Regions from separate parts of the Homo sapiens genome. Here region 2 is linked to region 1. The links are contacts of gene promoters, found by promoter capture Hi-C in blood cells and fetal thymus (Javierre and others, 2016). All regions are on one chromosome and are shown on one strand. Each heading gives the region's core, a stretch centred on a gene start or on the middle of the fragment in contact. The rest is flanking DNA. Distances are from core to core; before and after follow the strand shown. Region 1 holds the start of IFNK (interferon kappa). Region 2 overlaps IFT74 (intraflagellar transport 74).

Evidence for each region. Contacts are between HindIII fragments. The CHiCAGO score rates a contact against its expected background, and 5 or more counts as called.
Region 2: a fragment that was not itself captured here is called in contact with the fragment with the promoter of IFNK in region 1 in 1 of 17 cell types (activated CD4 T cells); the score reaches 5.1 in activated CD4 T cells.

Annotation. Positions count from the first base shown.
Region 1 is chr9:27,522,568-27,526,640 of GRCh38, reverse strand. It overlaps IFNK (interferon kappa), which reads right to left and starts at 2,351. Exons shown (of 2, transcript NM_020124.3): 1 at 1,680-2,351; 2 at 143-634. The coding sequence starts at 2,304. The coding sequence ends at 1,681. All of the region lies in intron 1 of MOB3B (MOB kinase activator 3B), which reads left to right. The HindIII fragment of the contact is 1,828 bases long and covers 1,048-2,875 here.
Region 2 is chr9:26,978,999-26,983,071 of GRCh38, reverse strand. IFT74 (intraflagellar transport 74) reads right to left here. Exons shown (of 20, transcript NM_025103.4): 4 at 2,453-2,501. Among named protein-coding and RNA genes, the nearest start is that of IFT74, 25 kb to the right of the region's middle. The HindIII fragment of the contact is 1,878 bases long and covers 811-2,688 here.

The DNA.
Region 1 (4,073 bases), core at 1,102-3,601:
CCCCTGCCACACATTCAGAAAATGTATATTAACTGAAAGCTCAGCTCGGCTTTCTCAGCCATTCTCTTTCCTCCAGGATAGCAAACACTTGGCAGGACTGCAACCATAAATGACTAAAGTAATTGACCTCATTCCAGTAAAGTTATTAGAGAGAACAGGCAAAGACTTTATTAGAGAAAGTCATGAAAAATAGCAAGTATATATTTTATGCTCAGTAGCTTGCATGTCCTAACTCCTTTACAAGCTTGTAGTACTATTTTTAATCTGGAACAACTCTGCTGATAGTTATTTTTACTAAATGGTTTGCACTAACTCATTTTATTGTCTGATCCTTCTGCTGATAGCCTGCATATACCATGATCCACAATTTGTTCTTGTTCTTTTAAACATCTCTTCTAACTTCTTGGCTGAAATTTGCCTCACTTTTATCATAAGACTTTCTTTGGCTATAACATTTGGGCCCTGCGCTTGGAATAATCTTGAATCTGAACAGTTTGGCAGCATGCTGTTAGTGGCATGAGCAGGAAATGGCTTCCAAGGGCAGAACCAGGTACATTTCAGATATATTTCACCCTTTTTTGGTGCATTTGCGTAGCCACAATCTCTGTTAATTCTTGCTTGAAGGTAGATGATTCTGAAATGGGGTAGATAGAGGTGCGAGAGGAAGAGAAAATCCATGTCAGCTAGGTGGTGAATTAATATAGATGAAGGGCCGTGCTAGAAAAGTAAATAATCTAGGTAGTCTGGCTGCAAAGTAACTTTTAAAAAGATAAAAGATATTAAAGTATTATGTATTATTGGAATAGCTAGTTAAATTAACTCACAGAATGTAGTCTTCTAACTAGGAAAATCTAATGTAAAATTGTTCCATATTATGACTCTGGACATTTTATTTCAGGCACATGAAAAACAGTAAAAGACAGATTCTGTACCATACTTTTCCACAGCATTTTCCATGCCTTTAGATGTAGGAATCAAACAATATACATCAGGAATGAAGAGTGTGCTACATTAGAATCACAGACTCTCAAAGGTTAAATGAAAGCTTAATGGTCGTCTAATTCAACCATCCATCCAATTTCACTATGGATCTTCACTCTTAAAGTAATGAAATACTATTCCACAAGCATCAATTCAAACAAACCAAGCTGAGAAGGAAATGGGCCAGAAATGTCAACCTTTTTCCCCCCGAGCAGGAGGGGGAAAATGCAAGAGTATTGACTCTAGGGAGCATGTATAAGCTCTTTTAATGTGCTGAATTTTCATAGGATAAGCAACCTTGGCAGCAAAACAGTTAAGTCATTGAAATGTTACCATTTTGCAACATTCTCTGCTCCCTATCCTCTAGCCATTGTCTTGGTGAAGTCCACAGGTGGTATATATAGCAAAGCTCTTTCAAAATGGCCACAGAAAAGAGCAAGAGAGAATAGAAGAAGACGGAGAGGGAATCTTATTCCTTTAAAAATGTCTTAAAGACTTTCTAAGGAGACTCTTGGTCACCCTGAGGATGGTTGGCATTACCTCTCCTTAGAGAGGTGAGTGTCCCTGATGTTCCGAGGCTACCAGTCCAACTGAGGACAGGCTTACAGGACAGCACAACAATCCTTAAAAAGAAGTTGGAGGAGGAGAAGGAGAAAGAGATTTCGGAGGGAAAAGGAATTTTAATTCCAAAAATATACCTTATTTCCTCCTGAATAGAGCTGTAAATTTGTAAAAGTAATACAAACATCTTCTGATTTCCACTCGGACAATCTCCCAGGCACAGTCACTGTATTTCTTTTCTTTCAGGAAATTGTCTATCCTGTGGAAATATCTCCTCAGTTCCAGGCTGCTCAGCTGGGGGACCCTGGCTTCTGAGGGTTTCATCTCATTCTCTTTCATTTCTTTCATGTCTTCATTTTCATTCTTGTCTTCCTCCAAGCATTGGTTCAGGTACTCTGCTTGCTGATCAAGTCCTATTTGGATTTGTTTGAGGTGTCTCTCTTTCCAATATTTGAAGGTGTGTTGGCTGAAGATGTTGAAGGCCTGTAGGGACATTTCATAGAAGGCCTTCTTGATGTCCCTCTTCATAGGTTGGGTGTATTGCAGAAACTCTTGGGGCAACTCAAAAGCTATGTTTTCTCGTAGACATTCTACAGGAAATGAATTGCTCATACTACTCAGATGTCTCAGATTTTGCCAGGTGACTCTTCTCAGGTGAACGTTCAGTAAGTTACAGTCCAGGGATAGGGTGCCAGCAATGAATATACCCATAAGGATCTCAAGCCACAAACACTTTTGAATCATATCAGGTTTGGTGCTCATTTTTTTTGCAAGCTAAAAAATCCAGAAGATGTGTATATGACAATGATGTTTTGAGTTTTCCTTCATGTGCCTTTATATACCTGAATATCTTCAGCAGGAGGAGTTTTCTCATTCGTCATTTCACAGTTAACCAAGGTTGCGGCCCCTTTCCTTTGCCTCTGAGGCTTTTTTTTTTTTTTTTTTTTTACTTCGGGTGACTATGCCGACTTTGGAAGTGATAACTTTTTTTTTTCCCTGAAAAATGAGCAAAGAATTACCATCGTGTTACCTTAAATGCCTGGATGATCCATCCCAGCACTAAGGAATCATCATAACAAGACTGATGCAGGGTATTTCAGAAAGCCAAAAGCTGTGAGTCCATGCACTCACTCACTCACTCACTCACCCAAATCTATTACATAAGAGGGAGTGATCCTTCATGAAAATATATTTTTTGTACCTGGTGCTATAGCCAAACATCCTGTCTCATTGAGTTAATCATAGACATTGACCAAATGACTGTGATTATTTGATTGCTAGGTCACCAGAGCACAGTATAGTTTAGGTTTTTCCAATTTTGTTAAATTAAGCTTCTATATTTGGATATTTTCTCTTTTTGATTTTTCTGGATCTCCAAAAAGATGAAGAATAGAGCTGGCACTTACTAAGTAGGAGACTAAGTTGGCTTGGTTTTCTGTTGCATTAGAAAATGTTGATAATCTCTAAATATCCTTTTCTTCAGTTAAATCCATCCTGGACTTAGCCTTCCATATGCCTCTGATACCTTTCTTAAAAGTCCTGGAGGGGGTTTTATATTTGAGAATATCTTTCTGCCTCATTAACTTCTCTCTTGTAGTATCATTTTCTTTTCTTTTCTTTTCTTTTTTTTTTTTGGTGCAGTTTAGGCAGTATTTTTAAACTTTTGCTTGATTGCTTGATTATTATATCTTCTTGCCTGGTGGTTCTGGATTCTGTAAAGGCTTTTGTTTGCTCCTGTGTTTGTTGTGCACTGAGGAGGTATGTGAGTAGGAAGTCACCCATTTAGCTAAGTGAATTCCTAGCTGGACCAATGTTACTGTGGTAATGATGGCTATCTATTGTTTATGGTTTTTACTTTGTTTGACCAAATAACCTTCCTCTGATTATGGTTAAAGCAAATGGATTCTTTTCTCCAGGAAAATAAAATGGATTGTCATTTTAAAAAGGTAGCTTATTATATCTTCTCAAGAAAAAAAAGATATACATTAATTTGCAATTAAGTCATTGTAAAATGGTAAATAGCCACAGTTCCACAAACATGGCAGACTTTGATTGAAAAGTTGGCTTAAAAAGTTCTTGTCTAAATCAGTTGACTGCACCAAAGGCTAATTGTGGGTAAGTGGGATTTCTTAAAATCCTGGCTTTTAGGAAAGGTTTCTTACGGAAAAAAATATATATATATATATTATTCTATTTGTTCCATCTACATAAATTCTTATTTCATGGGCAGATTTCTTGGGCTGACCAAATTTGGAAAACATTAAGAAAACAAGCCCTTTTATATAGCGTTATAAATTGACACAACCTTCCTAGAGAGGAAAGTGGTGATATGGATCAAAAGCCTTAAAAATGTACATAATATTTGACTCAGCGATTGATCCTCTAGGAACTGATTCCCCAGAAATAATGATGATGCCCTTAAAGACTTAGCTGTAAGGAAGTTTGTCACAGCAAAAAATGGAAAACAATTTTAATGTTCAGCAATAAATACTTAGTTAAGTAAGCCATCAGTAGAAAACATATATGTAAGC
Region 2 (4,073 bases), core at 500-2,999, 540 kb after region 1:
GATTAAACAAAAGCGAAATAAAAGAGAAAGAAGATACAAATAATGTGCCAAAAAGAAAATGAAGTAAAATGGGAAGATGGAGATAGGACAGTAGAACAAGTAAGTGGGAAAATAGTAAGAATAAGAAAAAGTCATTGATTTAGAGATGCATCCCCAGAGACATATAACAAAAGTTTATGAGGCCGAGTGCGGCAGCTCACGCCTGTAATCCCAGCACTTTGAAAGGCATAGGCAGGTGCATTACCTGAGGTCAGGAGTTCAAGACTAGCCTGGCCAAAATGGTGAAACCCCCATCTCTACTAAAAATACAAAAATTAGGCCAGGTGCAGTGGCTCACACCTGTAATCCCAGCACTCTAAGAGGCCAAGGTGGGCAGATCACCTGAGGTTGGGAGTTCGAGACCAGCCTGACCAACATTGAGAAACCTCGTCTGAACTAAAAATACAAAATTAGCTGGGCATGGTGGTGCACACCTGTAATCCCAGCTACTCGGGAGGCTGAGGCAGGAGAATCACTTGAACCCGGGAGGCGGAGGTTGCGGTGCCAGAGATCAGGCCATTGCACTCCAGCCTGGGCAACAAGAGCAAAACTCTGTCTCAAAAAAAAAAAAAAAAAAAAAATACAAAAATTAGCCAAGTGTGGTGGCAGGCACCCGTAATCCCAGCTACTTGCAGATTACAGGCACGAGGCTGAGGCAAGAGAATCACTTGAATCCAGGCGGTGGAAGTTGCAGTGACGTGAGATCCCATCATTGCACTCCAGCTTGGGTGACAAGCAAAACTCCGTCTCAAAAAAAAAAGAAAAAAAGCTTATGAATTAATTAAAATTAGGCCACATTGGTAGCAACTGACCAAATACATACTTATGTAAAACTTACTGATTAATATAACATAAATAAGTATACATATTTTCCCTTTCTTATTAGATGTAGCTGGTAACATTTTAATGATATGAGTAACACGTTTCAGATTAATTACTGAAAAAAAACATAGAAGATTATTCTTGGCCAGGTGCGGTGGCTCAGCCTATAATTTCAGCACTTTGGGAGGCTGAGGCAGGTGCATCACCTGAGGTCAGGAGTTTAAGACCAGCCTGGCCAATATGGTGAAAGCCCACCTCTACTAAAAAATACAAAAATTAGCCAGGCATGGTGGCGCATACCTGCAGTCCCAGCTACTCACGAGGCTGAGGCAGGAGAATAGCTTAAACCCGGAAGGCAGGGGTTGCAGTGAGCTGAGATCACACCACTGCACTCCAGCCTGGGCGACAGAGTGAGACTCTATCTCAAAAAAAAAAAAAAAAATTATTCTTATCATTAGATGAAAAAAGTGAACTTTTAAAATGCTACAAGGGGTTGGGCGCGGTGGCTCATGCCTGTAATCCCAGCACTTTGGAAGGCCGAGATGGGCAGATCATTTGAGGTCAGGAGTTCGAGACAAGCCTGGCTGACATGGTGAAATGCCACCTCTACTAAAAACACACACACAAAATTAGGTGGGTGTGGTGGCAAACGCCTGTAATCCCAGCTACTTGGGAAGCTGATGCAGGAGAATTGCTTAAACCTGGGAGACAGAGGTTGCAGTCAACCGAGATCATGCCACTGCACTCCAGCCTGAGCCACAGAACAAGACTCTGTCTCAAAAAAAAAATGCTATGAGGCCAGGTGTGGTGGTAGCTTATGCCTATAATCCCAGCACTTTGGGAAGCTGAGGCAGGAGGATCACTTCAACCCAGGAGTTCAAGGTTGCAGTGAGCTGTGATCATGCCACTGCACTCCAGCCTGGGCAACAGAGTGAGACTCTGTCTCTAAAATATAAATAAAATAAAATAAGTTTGCTATGGTTTGAATGTTTGAGTCCCTCTGAAATTCATATCAAAACTTAATCTCTAATGCAATAGTATTAAGAGGTAGGGACTTTAAGAAGTAATCAGGACATGACGACTCTGCCCTCATGGATGGGATTAGTGCCTTAGAAAAGGGTTGAAGGAAACTAGCTCAGCACCTTTTGCCCTTCCACTCTTCTGCCATGAGGACACCTTGACGGCACTATCTGTGAGAAACAGGTGCCCACCAGACACTGAAGCTGCTGGCACCTTGATCTTGGACTTCTGCGTCTCCGGAACAGTAAGAAATAAATTCCTATAAGTTACCCAATCTCAGGTATTTTATTATAGCAGCACAAACAAACTGAGGGAAAATATAGCTCATGTACATGCAAATTCATAAAACTATAAATCTCAGACTAATTATACTATCACATTTATTTTACAGCATAGCCAAATTAACCAGAAATTGTTAGAATACAAAATAATTTTTAGAAATCAATAGATACCTAATTATCCTAATAAGTGCCTAGCTAAAACTTCATATTAAAGTTATATACTCTATTTTGACAGAAGGTACACAATATTTCGAGTAAAACATACGGATGAAAAGATATGTTTAACATACCTAAGAAGCCCAAGATAGTAAGATTTGTCTAAAATTTGCCTCTGGGGACCTAAAAAAAAATGTTTTAAGTGTTAGTGTTCAGTTCGAAATGCCACCAGAATAGCAAATCCAAAGCACAATCAGAATTACACTCCACAATTCTCAAGACAGTCTTCATGAATGCCCCAATGAATCAAGAAGAATCACTGAAACTGAAAAGAGAACTAATACCTTAGAATCACAACATAAGGGAAGCTTCAATTAAAACTACGAAGATGGGACTAGAGGTGGGGCTGTTAAAAGACAGTAGACTCTACAGAACAGGACGATGGAATGAAAATTGAGTCTAAGGGAATCTGGAACAGAGCTGTCCAGAGTAACTTTCTGCAGTGACAGAAATATTCTAAATTAACACTGTCCAATAAAGTGGACAGAGGGACTACAGAAGCACTTAAAATTTGGCTGGTGCTACTGGGGAACTAATTTAAATTTCTGACTACTGGCTGTCATACTGGACACTGCAGACATTACTCAATGTGAGAAAGTGACTATGATTTTTTATCATTTGTCTCAGAGACTTTTTAAGAAATGGTCTTACATTTCAGTAGAACTAAGAAAGTATTCCTGGCCGGGCACGGTGGCTCACACCTGTAATCCCAGCACTTTGGGAGGCTGAGGTGGGAGGATCCCTTGAGGTCAGAAGTTCAAGACCAGCCTGGCCAATATGGTGAAACCCCATCTCTACTAAAAATACAAAAAAATTAGCTGGGCATTGTGGCATGTGCCTGTAAGCCCAGCTACTCAGGAGGCTGAGGCAGGAGAATTGCTTGAATCTGGGATGCGGAGGTTGCAGTGAGCCAAGATCACATCACTGCACTCCAGCCTGGGCGACAGAGAAAGACCCCATCTCAAAAAAAAAAAAAAAAAAAAAAAAAAAGAAAGTGTTCCTAGGTTAAATGTCTCAAACCTTGTAAGAGATGAAGTGCCCTGCAAAGTATGAGAGGTAAAACTAGGTGTATTAACTATAAGGTCTATGCTGAGAAGTAGAGGTAGTATCTTATTATACTGGGAAATGGGGCACTAGAGAAGGTAAGAATGAAAGTCACAGTAGACAGTTCTGTGTAGTGGTAATGTTCCGAATTCTCTCTTAAAAGGCTTTGAAGTATACTTGTAGAGACTAACAATCTTAAATTATATTGGTTCTGTTTTGAAGGATAAATTAATACAGAAATAAACATTTGATAAATTTACTATAGAATTTTAATATGTTTTTACCCTCGATGTTTTAAAATACTATTAAACATATAAATATTTCTGTGCATCCACTTTCAAAAGGCTAGTTAAATGACTATGTAATTTTGAAATATTTTTTCATGGTACTGATAATCATTAAGCAAACATTTCTAAATAATCAATTCATTTTTAATATTTAGTGATTTAGATGTTATTAGAATGTAGATGAAAAAATTTAAGTCTCAAAAAAAAAAAATTTAAGTCTCTTGAAAGGGATGATATACTGTATTATAGAAAGTAGCATGTATGATATAATTAATTTTGTACTAGCAGTATATCTTCATTCCTGATAGATCATCTGTCAAAAATACAGAAAACGAAAAACTCTGAAACAGCTCACCACAGGCTA